Linked DNA regions of Homo sapiens: region 1 is linked to region 2. Evidence: promoter capture Hi-C in 16 types of primary human blood cells and fetal thymus (Javierre and others, 2016). All regions are on one chromosome and are shown on one strand. Each heading gives the region's core, a stretch centred on a gene start or on the middle of the fragment in contact. The rest is flanking DNA. Distances are from core to core; before and after follow the strand shown. Region 1 holds the start of PRPF40A (pre-mRNA processing factor 40A). Region 2 holds the start of ACTR3 (actin related protein 3).

Region 1 (6,537 bases), core at 2,555-5,054, about 39 Mb after region 2:
TACTAAAGGAATTTTCTGTTCTTTCCATATCATCCCATAAAATCTGATATCTACTCTTATCAAATGATCTGAACTGAATCATAGGATGTTAGAGCTGAAAGGGACCTTAACTCAATTACTCTACTCTTCTCACTGATAGAGGAAAATAAAGACTCAAATAGGGAGGAAAAAAAAAGAGCCAGCTAGCATGACTCTGGGGCAAAGGCATAATCATCTGTGATAAAGATGGCAGGACCTGCATGTCCTTTGTGTAGAAAACACAAAAGACATGAAAACAGTATTTACTATGGACACTGAGGAAGAAGACAGCCTCACACATAATTTTATTGATAGAAATCTCTACAGAAAATCTTTATTTTTTTGAGATAGGGTCTCACTTTGTCACCCAGGATGGAGTGCAAGGCGTGATCTTGACTCACTGCAGCCTCGACCTCCCAGGTTCAAGCAATCCTTCTGCCTCAGCCCCCTAAGTAGCTGGGACGACAGACGCACACCACCACACCCAGCTTATTTTTAAATAGTTTTTGTAGAGATGGGGTTTCACCATGTTGCCCAGGCTGGTCTCCAACTCCTGAGCTCAAGCGATGCACCCGCCTCAGCCTCCCAATGGGAAATTTTTGAGTACTGCCATCCAGCAGGGAAAATTCTTTATCTTTCTTTACTAACATTTAACCAGTGATCCTCAAAGCATCTTAAATCACATATTATTTAAAGCTTAAACAACCTGTAAGGTCCCTTTCAGCTATAAGATCCTATAACTCTAAAAGTATGACTTTCCTATAAAGTTATATAGAATAAGAGGCAAATTTAATCTACAAGATAGAAAACTGAAATAAACCTGAAAGAATATTAAGCTCAATTTGATAATCATCAAATATTTATTACTACTAAGAGTCAGCCTAAATGCATGAGATGGCACTCTAGGTCATCTCATGAATTAAGAAAAAAAAAATTTGAACACACCACTTCTTTAAGCTAAATAGCTTGATGCATTTGAGAAATTATGAACCCTGGCTTCCGTACATCATTATGCTACCCAGTCTGCATATTATTTTACAAACAAGTTTTACAGTTTCATGTCATATTGGTAACATTCCAAAGACCACAATTATTTGGCAAGTAAGACTGCCACCAATTTTAGTCTTTAGCTAGTCCCAGCATGAGATGTTCATGCAAACCAGTCAACACATGAAGGTTTTTATAACCTTCAGTCCCAAAGTCTAAAGAATTTGTGAACTGACTTTTTTAAATTGCATGGCAGAACCCTCCCAACTGTCACTACTGTGAATGATACAGACAGACATCCTGCTTCTTCTCAATTATCTTCTGACCACTTATTCCTCCTGAGTACTTCCAAGAGTGGCAGAAGAAATAATGCAGGAAAAAGGATCAATTGTCCTATTTATTATCACCTTTAATTTTTAAAGCAATGTTTACAGAGTTTCAAATATGATTTCTGATTTGAGAATTCAAATTATCCATGCTCTCCCAGTCTGTTATAAAGCTAAAACAAGAATTTGTTTTACCAAGATTTGGGACCCATATTTGTTAGTGAAATATTAAGGGGATAAAAGGGAATTATATAATTCTGACAAAAACAGCGGAGATTCTTTTGGGACTTTCAGGGCATAACTCCTACTAAAACATTTATTTATTATACTAACAGGAGCCTTCAGAGGGAGAAGAATTCTAAACATCTAAATAATTAGGTCTACTTAAAGGCACGTGGCATATATTAGCCTAGGAAAAAGTAGAAGAAAACCACACCAAAAAAATCAGTTATTTGAATGGATGTGTACCGAGTAGCAAGTAAACTTACTAGAAAGATGGTCACTGATACAGCTAAAGAGAAAGGGCCATAAAGCAAACTGTGACCAGCTTATGTCAATGAGATACATGAAAGTACTTTTAAAAAATAAAATCTGCATTTTTTTTTTTAACTAGAACTATGACTAGCTGGTATCTTGGTTTTGGTAGTGCAATAGCACCATTACAGCAAGGGTAAGCAGGTCAATCCCTTGCAAAACTTACCTTGATTGGCCCAATGGAAACAGAAGGCCCCAGAAAAGAGAGAAGCATCTGGCAGTAGCAAATTGTTTTATTTTATCTTTCTGTGGAAAGAAACTAATTTTAAATAAGAACCAGAGCATTTAAAGAATAAATATTTTTAAAGCTCATTATCTAGTTAGAGCAGCTCTACCAAGAAAACAAGAAGAGCTCCTTGCTCCTTAGAGATGGAAAGAAACAGAAGAGGAATCAAAGTTGTTTCTCCATCACCTAGAGAGTTTTAAAATTTGTGTTATTCTAGAGTAACAGAATAAAAGGCTCTTTTATTTAAAGAACTCCTGCAAGCAGAATCTTTTGGGGCTGGTGCCTTTGAATAAAGGTTTTGTTTTGTTTTTTAACAAAATTAAGGGCAATATTCCAAATTAAAAAAAAAAAGAGGAAAATCACTGGACATTAAGCCCTTCTACTCTTAAGGTTAAGTAAAAAGAGACAGACACATAGCAAGCTCCTTTTCCCACTGCAATTTCACCAATAACTTTAACCATGAAAGCTTAAACAATTATCAAACAGTACTAATTAGCAAAAGATCACATGAAATTGGCTTCCAAAATATTTTGTTAGCCTAAATTTTTGATGATTTATGGAAATACTCAAATGGAAATAACCCAGCCACCTAAAGATCTATTATAGAACTTAACATGAAGCACAAAATTACTCATGGTAACTGAACCTGTTACCTTTCTTGGATGCTTCTCTAGAAACTCAGTTCTACCGAAATCACTGAATCAGCATTAAAACCTTTTGATCCAAATCACTCCTACAAAATGTCCATTTACAATTTATGCTAGAGATGGAAGGGACAGCTCATAAGCAGGAGTGTAGAAGCAACAAGCATTAAAAAAAAATAGTATAAGTGGAAAATGAACTACCTATTGGCACTGTCCTATGAAGAATCAGAATTATAGAGCACAAACTCCCCACCCTCCCTCACCCTCCTCCAACACACAAAGAGGAAGATATTTCAGGAATAAAATTCGCTCTAAACCAAAACAATAGCTATTTTCAGATTCTATTTATTTACATGGTCTACCAAAATCAGTTATGTTGCTGTATCAGATAATATTTACTTAGACCATCAACTTCAATTGGCATTCTTGAAAAAATAATCATTAAAAATAAAAGCCTGGATCCACACTTTACTTTTAAATAATAAAGAAAAAAATTCTTAGTTTTGAGGTCATCAGTAAATTTCTCAGAAGACTTTTTCATTATTTAAATTTCTCAGAAGACTTTTCCATTATTCAAATTTCCGTTACAGTCATGATTTAACATTTGGCTTATTTGAAATTATTCGGGCATAAACTAATCATTAAACAGCTATAACTACTGACCTAGATTCTGAAATCTTGATAGAATACCTGAGGCAAAAACAAATAAATAAATGCAAAATAAAACAAAAACAGTCTTACTTGTCCCATTGGTGGCCCTCCCATAGGGGGCATCATCTGCGGCATCATTCCATGAGGTACAGGAGGCATATTCGCTCTCTGACCCATAGGGTGCATTCCCATTGGGGCATAATGCATGCCAGGGTGCCCCATCTGAAAAACAGTGAACATTTTTAAATGAGCAAATAATACTAAATGCTTCTCAAAAATCTCATTTCAACAGATCAGTTATCTGAAGCGACATAATATTAAGCTTATGTGTAATAACATCATTGGATTAGTCTATACCTTGTTTCAAACAAAACGCATTCTGCTAGTATTTAAAACGAGCTTGCAAATTCCGTAAAAAAATGGGAAAAGTTAAGATGAATCCTGGACCGCTGGATCATAGGTTTTCTCTCTCTTTTTTTTAAGCACTGACTTAACCAGCTACTAATTGGCTTGCTAAGCTTGGAGGATACACATTGAATACTAATTTTAAAACTGTTATGGTGAAAACAACAACTCTCCTATTTCATGCAGATATAAAAGATAGCCAGCTATTGTTATTTTATAACACTACTGATTTTAAACTTTAAAATGCTCTATCCAATTAACTCAGGTGAGAGTCGGTCTTACAAAACACAAACAGTATGGCTACCCAGGCACAATTCACTCCTAACAAACTTATTTCCTAACATAACCTTTAAGACAGGTAAAATTCCTTCTGCCAAAAATACATTTTCAAAGACTGAGGTTCTGTCACTCACGGACACTAAATGCAAACAACTAATTCATCCTTTTTAACGCAGTTTAAAAAGACAACTACTTTCTTTACCGATGAGTCCATTGTTCTATGTTTTAAATTAAAACCACCTAATTATCTCCTGCCAATTGTCCCAACAGTTCCCCCTGCAGACCACCCCGACGACTAATGAAAACAAATTTTGGCAGCCGCTGTTAAAGTCTTACAGTATCAAGCCCCTGCCTCCCCCTCCCAGCTAAAATCGGGCCTAAAGCTCCAAGACGCTCACCCCGCCCAAGAGCCAGCACCTTCACCACGCATCTGTCTAGGCCAAGCCCACGGGGAACTTCCAGGGTCTCACATCCTTCTCTTTGTGCATTTCCACCCTCCACTTCTCTCCCTCAGAACATATCCCACCATCTCGAGTTCTTCCTTCGTCCACTCTTATCTTCTTCTCCTTTCGGAGAAAGCTTCCTGTTTCTCACTCCGTTTTTCATTGTGCCGCCTTCCCCCTGCCCCACTGATCCCTTACCGAGGGCCGTCTCCTCAGGAAGCCGTCAGCAGAGACCCAAGAGCCGGAGCAGAGGCTTGAGCCGGACAATCTCCGCTCCCCGTCCCCAGGACCCTGCGAGGGAGGATGGCTCTCCATTTCACTCACCATGAGGCCTCCACGCTCAGCTCCCGTCCCCGGCCTCATCGTCGGGCTCAGACTGCTCCGCCGGCGGCCACTGCCGCTACACATACCAACAAGAAGCGATCTGAGTGGCTGGCGCCCACTGGGGCTAAAGGTTAAAGGCTGCCCTGCGCTACGGGGCGGGATCAGCGGGGCCAACAGGCTGACGGGCTTCCCCGCTGTCCAATCAGAATGCGCCGCCGACACGCAGCTCTGCGGCGATTCGCCCCCAGCCTCAGCCTCACTCGGCGTCGCCTGCATGGGGGGGGGGGAGGAGGAGGACGGAGGAAGTTTCTGCGCCGAGTCCTCCGTCGGGAAAACTCTACCAACTTCCCCAGGGGAAGGGAAGACAACAGTGTCCCAGCTTCCCGAGCTTAGACCGCCTCACCCCGTAGGGGGTGGGGCAGTGGGGGTCTGCCACCTTCACCCTCCCCGCCCGAGTTACGTACGCCCCACAAACCTGAGGCCGCCAGGGGTAGGGTGGAGGGGGCGGGGGTAAGCAGCCTGTAGTGTTAGCGGTGGCTGGGACCGAATGCGCGCGCGCGGTGCTCGAGGCGGAGGGGAGGAGGCGGGGAAGGCGAAAGGAGGGGTTCGGAGGAGAGGGTTCGATCTCCGTACGCACCAGGTGGAGAGCGCGCGCCTGGGGAAGGAGGCGTGTCGAGTAGCGGGAGGGAAGTTGTAGTACGGGTGGGGAGAACCACACTAAAGGGAGATGGGGGTGAGCAGTTAAGGAACCGCGAGAGCGCCAGGTAGAGAGGTGCCCTTAATGGGGGAACCTGGAGAAGAGTGTGAGCGTAGTGGGGAAGAAGGGAGAAGACAAATAGGTTCGGGAATGTGTCTCCGAGGGCGCGAGCGGGCGCTAGGACCCGGCGTCGAAAAGATGAGGCTTTGGGGCTGTCGGGGCGCGCGCTCCCGTTGGTGACGCGGGGGTGGCGGAGGTCTCCGGCCGGGACGAAGCCCCGCAGGGAGTGGATACTCGACAGCCTTCGGCCTCCGCTCGCTTCTCCCTGCGCGCTTTCCTGCTCCCCTTTCCGGCTACAGCCCTGGGGTCGAGCTCTGGTCGAAGCGCATTCCGCCTCTCCTTTGGCCCTGCGGCTTCCTTTGCAACCCGCCGCCCACCCTTGCTCTCCGTGGTTTACCCCTGGGCTCTGAGGCCTGGTGGTAGCGGCCACTGCCGCGGATTGGCTGTTGCGGACCCGGGGCGGGGCAGGTGGGAGAGGCTCGTTCTCCGCGGGTTTCGTTGTGTTTCGCGCCATGTCGTTTGCTGAGAGCGGGTGGCGGTCGGCTCTGCGGCGCCGCGGTCCCGGCACCCCGGGCCCTGTGGCTCGGCCATCGTATTCCTCCTTTACTCAGGGGGACAGCTGGGGTGAAGGCGAAGTCGACGAGGAGGAGGGATGCGACCAAGTGGCCCGCGACCTGCGGGCGGAGTTCTCGGCTGGGGCGTGGTCAGAGCCCAGAAAGCGCTCGGTGCTCCCGCCGGACGGGAACGGGTCGCCCGTTCTGCCCGATAAGCGCAATGGTATCTTTCCCGCGGCCGCGGGCAGCAGAGCCCAGCCTCGGCGGTGGCCGGTCCAGGTCCTCTCTATTCTCTGCTCGCTGCTCTTCGCCATTCTTCTCGCCTTCCTCCTCGCCATCGCCTACTTGATCGTTAAAGGTATTGAAGCCGACGCCTTGAAAGTCTGTCC
Region 2 (7,044 bases), core at 4,516-7,015:
ATCCCTTATCCATAAACAATTTATTTATAAACAACACAAATTTAGGCTTTGTAAAAAATAGAAATTTGGCCGGGTGTGGTGGCTCACGCTTGTAATCCCAGCACTTTGGGAGGCCGAGGCAGGCACATCACTTGAGCTCAGGAGTTTGAGACCAGCCTGGTCAACATGGTGAAACCTTGTCTCTACCAAAAATACAAAAATTAGCAGGGCTTCGTGGCATGCGCCTGTTGTCCCAGCTACTCGGGAGGCTGAGGCAGGAGAATTGCTTGAACCCGGAAGGCAGAGGTTGCAGTGAGCCAAGATTGAGCCACTGCACTCCAGCCTGGGGGACAAGTGAGACTCCACCTCAAAAAACAAACAATCAAACACAATATAAATTTATTTCTCATAGTTCTGCAAGCTGAGAAGTCCAAGATCAAGATGTGAGCAGATCCACCTTTGGTGAAGGGCTGCTTTCCATTTGATAGATGGCTGTCTTCTTGTGTCCTCACATGGTGGAAAGGGTGAGGCAGTTTTTTGAGGTCTCTTTTAAAAGAGAACTAATCCCATTCATGTGGGGGTCTGCCCTCATGACCTAATCACTTTCCAAAGGCCCCACTTCCTAATACCATCACCCTGGGGGTTAAATTTTCAACACACAAATTGGTTGGAGAGTGAGCGAACATAGACATTCAGTCTATAGCCCCCAGGGATGTAGCCACTGAATAAAATAATCTAGAACTTCATCTAGAGGCAGTTTATAAGTCACATAAGAAAACCAGTTTTACTTATAGTCACATAAAACTTTTGATAAAAAACAACCCTAGTTGATAAGCCATTTGTTTACTGGACTTGGCTCTGAAGAAATGACTTTTGGCTAATCCTCAAAATGAAATCTACTCACAGAGGGCAAGATCTGCCACCAGTGAAGATGTTTAAAACAATGTGCTGTAGGCTTTGAAGGCAAGTCTAAAGAAGAGCTTCTAAAAATATTTTGCACAATGGTAGCATTAAAAGAGTAGGCACATGGGCCCCAAGATAACATCTGTGAAGAGGAGGACCAGTGTGTGTTTCCTTTTGTATGTTTAAGTACTAAGTCAGTGATTACTTTATAATTAAACCATATTCCTCTTGATCTGTCCATAATAAGGTCACTCTGTAATTTATAATAGGCTTCTTACCAAATTCAAGCTTTACAACAACCCTATAGGTTAAATATTCCTGTGAATTTTATAGATGAAGAAACAGAGTAAGTGAAAGAGTTCATACTCAATTCAAGTCTCTTGAGTCTAAAATCAGTGCTCTCTCTACATAAGAAGTTAGTTGCTAAGATCACACAACTTGAGAAGAGAGAAGACAGTTTTCACAGTCCCTCCCCTCTGACCACTAGGCTGCTTGGGGTACTTTTACAACTTACCTGCTCTGAATTAAGGCTCTCTGTGAATCTGATTCATCTGCCAATTTGCAAACAGTCAGCCCTGTAGTACGTACCTAAGTTGATTTTTAAAATACTATTTCTCATCTTAAAATAATGGAAATTGAGTGACATAAATTTCCTGGACACTTTTTAAGATCCAAAGACAATTTGCTAATTTGTCGTTACAATTAAAGAGCCCCCCAAAAGGCGTAAGAACTGGATTTTGACTTGGACTTCTGTTCCTTAGTTTCTTTAACATATTGGGGGCCGGGAGTGGTGGCTCACACCTGTAATCCCAGCACTTTGGGAGGCCGAGGCGGGCAGATCACGAGGTCAGGAGATTGAGACCATCCTGGCTAACACAGTGAAACCCCGTCTCTACAAAAAATACAAAAAAAAAAAAAAAAAATTAGCCGGGTATGGTGGCGGGCGCCTGTAGTCCCAGCTACTCAGGAGGCTGAGGTAGGAGAATGGCATGAACCCAGGAGGCAGAGCTTGCAGTGAGCCGAGATCGCACTACACTGCACTCCAGCCTGGGCGACAGAGCAAGATTCCATCTCAAAAAAAAAAAGAAAAAGATATTGGGAAAACTCACTTAAACTCTATGGGCTTCTGTACCACTAAGGCTTCTCAAATTTGATGCAAGTAATGGGAACTTGCTGTGGCTAACTTGAGCCACAGGAGAAGGATACTGCAAGACTCACAAATGCTTGAAAGTTTCGGAACAGGTTTGGAAATGGGTAAGAACCAAGGACCGGGTTGACCTGAACTGAAAGGAAATTGAGGTGCTATTAGGGACAAATATGAAATGAAGGATGAACTGTCTCTGACATCCTTTGCTTCTGTGTTTGGAGATGAGTAAGCAGGGAGTGGGTGCATATGCAAACAGGGTGGTCAGAAATGCTTTGGCCGGATGTGTGACTGAAGGCTATGTGCAGCTGAGGAAGGCTGGGCCACCACAGTAGCAGAGAGGCTGACCAATTTGGCATGCAGCAAGCAGGAAGTAGAAGGGATCTTAAGCAAGCAAAGTGTTTGGGTAGACAAGATTATGAGGAATGAGCACCAATGACATTTCCAACAAGCACTGAAAGCTTCCAAATGCTTCTAACAGTTACTGCCTGTACAAACACAGGACAGTCTTGACTATGTGAGACTGTGACAGTTTCCTCATGCCTATGAAATGAGAGACAGTACTTAGCACTGACATGAGCTTCATATTTGAAGGCAGCAAACTACTGAACCACATGTAGCTTCCGAAATCAAAAGATGCAAACTGGCAGACCACAGGTCAGATATGACATGCAGAAAAAAATTAGTTACTATCTTAGCCTAGTTTGTGCTGCTTACAGAATATCAGAGACTGGGTACTTTATAGAGAACACAAATTATTTTTCATAGTTTTAGAGGCTGGGAAGTCCAAGATCAAAGGGCCATCATCTCGTGAAGGCGTCCCTGCTGTGTCAAAACATGGTGGAAGGCATCACATGGGCAAAAGAGAGAGAGGGAAGCGGGGGCAAACTCCTTTTTATCAGGCACCCAGTCCTGTGATTCATTCATGAAGACAGTGTCCTCCTGGCCTAATCACCTCTTAAAGCTCCCACCTCTCAGCACTGTTGCACTGGAAATTATATTTCTCACACATGAACTTTGGGGAACACATTCAAACCATTACAGTTACCAAAGATAAAAATGCAGATTTCAGATTTCTCTTGGGGAAGAAAAAAGGCTCTGGCAATACCAGGGCTGTATTTCCACATGGCAACAGTTGTCTGTTGCCTTCTGTTGGGTTGTGGGCTCTCACATTGCCATACCCTCCTCATGGCCCCCTTCACTCATAACAGTACCTGCCTAGACCTCGAAGCACTAGTTTCCAACCCTGCTTGAGTTAACTACTTCCATGACAACTGTGCAAGGCCAGAGTGTGGGCAGCTACCTTGAGGGCCACCGGCATGGGCTGCCCAAGTGACCGAGGGCACTAACCTCTGCTCTCGAAACTTCTTTGGTAGGATCTCTTCACTCCTGACTTACTACTTGTAACTGCTGGAAACAACCATTTATTCTACCCCTACTAAACCACATCTGTCTTTTCTGTCAGAGCCAATCTTCAAGCATATGCTTCCTCAAAAGACTTTAATTACCAGGTAGTAGAAGCGGCAGCAAAGAGTCCCCATCTAGCATCTTCTAAAATGTAGTGGAGAAACCAACGACAACGAATCTGAGACAACCAGTTGTTTGACTTCTCTGAAAACAACCTCTAAAAAAAGCCTTCTCTCGTGAATAGCTGCAGACATGCTGGGCACTAATTGATGATGATGCCCTTTAGTGAGTCTCCTCTGCACATACCTGATTCCATTTGGATGCTGGCCCTCACATACTTCTATCTGCGAACTCCGGAACACAGAATATCATACAATGTATGATTCAATCTGGACTCTGCTGGAGCCATTCTCTACAAAGCAGACACAACTTTTTCTTGCCTAAATCCTTTCAAGTTGCTTTATTTTTATTTTTAAACTAATTACCATAAATCTAATTTATCAAGCTGCTTTTAAGATAAACTTTAAAATGCTTAGAGCAGTCTACAAATTCTTGCACTGTTTCACTCTTCCTTATCTCTCAGTCTTCATCTCCCATTGCATCTTCTCTGACTCTTTCATATGGATCTTCTTTCAATTTGTGGAAGAAGCCAAGCTTGTTCCTGCCTCAGGTCCTTGACACTTGCTGTTCACTCTCCTGGGAGACTCTTCCCCCCATCTTAGCTTTTAAATACCAGCTGGTCAGACTCCTTACCTGCCTTCCACCTTCCTCTCATTCTCCCACTCCTCGCCTTCATTTCTCAGAGTCCTCCGCTCTCTTCTTTCTATTGCTCTTAACACAATTTGTCTGTTTTCCGCTAATCTGTAAACTCTACAAGAGCACTTAACTATTTTGCATCCCACCGAATATTCGGAGTCAGCACAGACCCCGTCATAATAGAGTAGGTAAGCAATGCTTACCTGTCAAATGAATGAATGAAACACCCGATTCATCCCCCAAGCCAGCTTAATACATTAGATGATCTTATGGACTGAATAAGACATCCCTCCTTTTAAAGAATATTTTTGTTTTAGCTTCACATCAGCAAACCCCGAACGGTTCATCCTAAGATAAGCCTGGTAGAGAGGAAAGATACTAACCTTCTAGGGTCCTAAAGTGGAACTAGGAACTTATTAGATATGCACATTCTCAGGCATTATTTCCGATAGCCCAGTCAGAGAATTCTGGGGGTATGGCCCAGCAATCTGTTTTAACAAACCTTTCAGGTAATTCTGATACACACTAAAGTTTGAAAGGTTTCTTTAAGGCTTTCCAGTTTTCTTTTCTTTTTTGGAGGGATGGGGGGGGGTCTCCCCATGTTGCCCAGGCTGGTCTCGAACTCCTAGCCTCAAGCTATCCTATCCTCCCACCTCGGCCTTCCAAAGCATTGAAATTACAGGCATGACCCACTGCGGCTCGCCTCCGTTTCTAACTTAAAAAAATTTTCTTTGGAGGGGAGCCTTAATCCTTTCTATTATCCTGCTAGTAGAATCTTACTACTCCTGAGGGTAATCTTTGTCATAATCCAAAAGCCTTGAATAAAGGCCTATTTGTATAGTTATGCAGAATATATTCCTGGGAGGTTTGCCTTCCTAGGAGCACAGGTCGGCCCTGGGAGGTGGGGGTTGGGGGGCAGGGCTGCATTCTAAAGTCCTGTAACAACGCACAAGTACAACTGAATAGAACTCGGAACAAAGGCATCAGGGCCACGGTGCAAGTCTTTGTTCATCCGTTCCCCGACTGCTCACCCTGTCTGATACCGCTCTTTTCCACCCAGAAAAGCAGCCACTCAAGTTTTAAGAATGGATGTATGCCGCGGACGTTTTCGATTAGGCCGTTTTCTCTCAGGCACTGGAGGATATTCGTGGCTGCAGGAGGCGCTTCCACCCTTTCCTCAACCTAGCAAAGAAGTAACTGAAACTAACCCAAGGGTTACAACCGAAAAGCCCCTTCCAGCTTCAGAAGCAGAACTGGAAGCTCGGATAGACTTCTCCGCCTCTACACTCCTGGAAAACCCGCAGTGGATTTCACCAACTTCAGGATCGGAGCCCAGGCAGGCGAACGTACCTTATTGCGCATGCTCGCTAGCCCCTCCCGCTCGGAGCGGAAGGGGGAGCGCTGGGGGCCTGGGCCTGGCCTGGCCGGGGCGTCGGCACCGGCGGCCATCTTGGCTTCCCGGGGAAAGGCGGCGTGAGGGGAAGAAGTTGTAGGGTGGGGGCAGGAGTGAGGAGGAGGGAAGAGAGAGGGGGAGGAGGCCGCGGCGGGGCAGGGCGGGGACTGCCTGCCTGCCTGGGTTGCGGAAGTGATAGCCGCCGACCGAGCCTGCTGCTTTCTTGCTACTGCTTCGGCTTCCCGGCTACCCCCCGGACGGTGAAGGCGGCCCAGCTGTGGATGGTCAGATAGCCCTTGTCTCCCGCCGCCAATCTCTGGCCCCTAGCAGCACGGAGCAGACGGCGGCAGCAGCAGCAGCAGGCGAGGAGGAAGATGGCGGGACGGCTGCCGGCCTGTGTGGTGGACTGTGGCACGGGGTAAGGGGGCTTACGGGCGGGGGTGGGGAAACTGAGGCGGAGGAAGGAAGATGGCGGGGGAGGGAGGAGGCCGGGAAATGAATGGTGCGGCGAGGTGCCGCCGCCGGCTGTCAGTCCTAGACCCGCCGGCCAGCGAGGGGTGGGGCCCGCAGCCAGGGCCTCGCGGGTCCCCTCGTTTCTCCCTCCTGGGACTGGGGCGGGGGCGCGGGCCCGAGATTCAACCCCCAACCCTCCCAGCGGCTTTCTCCGCGCGACCCCTCCCGGCCCTTCCCCCACTACGGTGGGCAGCGCCGCCCAAAGGGCGCTGGGGACGGTCGTCTTGGGGGTGGTCCCCGGGCCCGACCCATCCGGCTTTCCTTTCCCTCCGCGCCCGTTTTTGCCAGTCGGTTTGGGGACCCAGGGGCCGAGCTCGGGGACTGGCCTGGCAGGGGAGCTAGAAAAGAGAAGCGCTCCTGGTAGGTTTGACAAGATCGCTGTGACAACATTCTGCCCAGGGTGTGGGTGGGGAAAGGGAAGAATCGGACTCTGAAAATGGGAACCTACAGTGGGGCTTTCATTTGACCACCCACCTTCTCCTTTCGACTCCTGGTCATTTCCATCTCCCTCTGCGTTTTAACCGGTGAACCAAGTCACATTTTAATTCGAGGGAGAAAGATGTCATGTGTTACTTCTGTAGCCTCAAAAAAGTCCCCCAGTGAGCAAGCGCGCTGCAACTTCCTTAGTTTTGTCAAAGCCGCTTCCTGCTTTCAGTCTTTTATACCCTTATAAGGTAGTTTTTAGTTTCCAACCTGAGCACATCTTACTAGAACTTTTAAGCAGGTTTTAAAGAGACTGAATTACCGGTGCTTGGTGTCCATTTATATGACTTAAAAAAATGTACTTATGTTTCATGGAGTGGGGGAAAGGAAGCACCCTGGAAAATAAACTAATTTAAGTTGTATTCGTTCATTCTGTGATGGTATCTTGAAGGAAGCAGGAAGGTATAGAGGTATATAGGAGGGTGTTTAAGTTGCAAATAGTTACTCGTAGATATGTAGGGTAGTT

What was found. Contacts are between HindIII fragments. The CHiCAGO score rates a contact against its expected background, and 5 or more counts as called.
Region 1: a fragment that was not itself captured here is called in contact with the fragment with the promoter of ACTR3 in region 2 in 2 of 17 cell types (fetal thymus and total CD4 T cells); the score reaches 10.8 in fetal thymus.

Annotation. Positions count from the first base shown.
Region 1 is chr2:152,712,519-152,719,055 of GRCh38, forward strand. It overlaps PRPF40A (pre-mRNA processing factor 40A), which reads right to left and starts at 4,943. Exons shown (of 26, transcript NM_001365597.4): 1 at 4,712-4,943; 2 at 3,477-3,608. The coding sequence starts at 4,921. It overlaps ARL6IP6 (ARF like GTPase 6 interacting protein 6), which reads left to right and starts at 6,102. Exons shown (of 4, transcript NM_152522.7): 1 at 6,102-6,506. The coding sequence starts at 6,107. RefSeq lists enhancers at 4,643-4,942, 5,491-6,196, 5,663-5,732, 5,753-5,842, 6,073-6,272 and 2 more and a silencer at 5,343-5,442. The HindIII fragment of the contact is 196 bases long and covers 3,707-3,902 here.
Region 2 is chr2:113,884,324-113,891,367 of GRCh38, forward strand. ACTR3 (actin related protein 3) reads left to right here and starts at 5,766. Exons shown (of 12, transcript NM_005721.5): 1 at 5,766-6,000. The coding sequence starts at 5,957. ACTR3-AS1 (ACTR3 antisense RNA 1) reads right to left here and starts at 6,669. Exons shown (of 5, transcript NR_110174.1): 1 at 6,570-6,669. It overlaps LOC124906071 (a long non-coding RNA gene), which reads right to left and starts at 5,444. Exons shown (of 3, transcript XR_007087205.1): 1 at 3,740-5,444. RefSeq lists enhancers at 5,137-5,446, 5,567-5,656, 5,689-6,344, 6,427-6,476, 6,527-6,706 and 2 more and silencers at 5,737-5,796, 6,037-6,296. The HindIII fragment of the contact is 5,488 bases long and covers 4,086-7,044 here.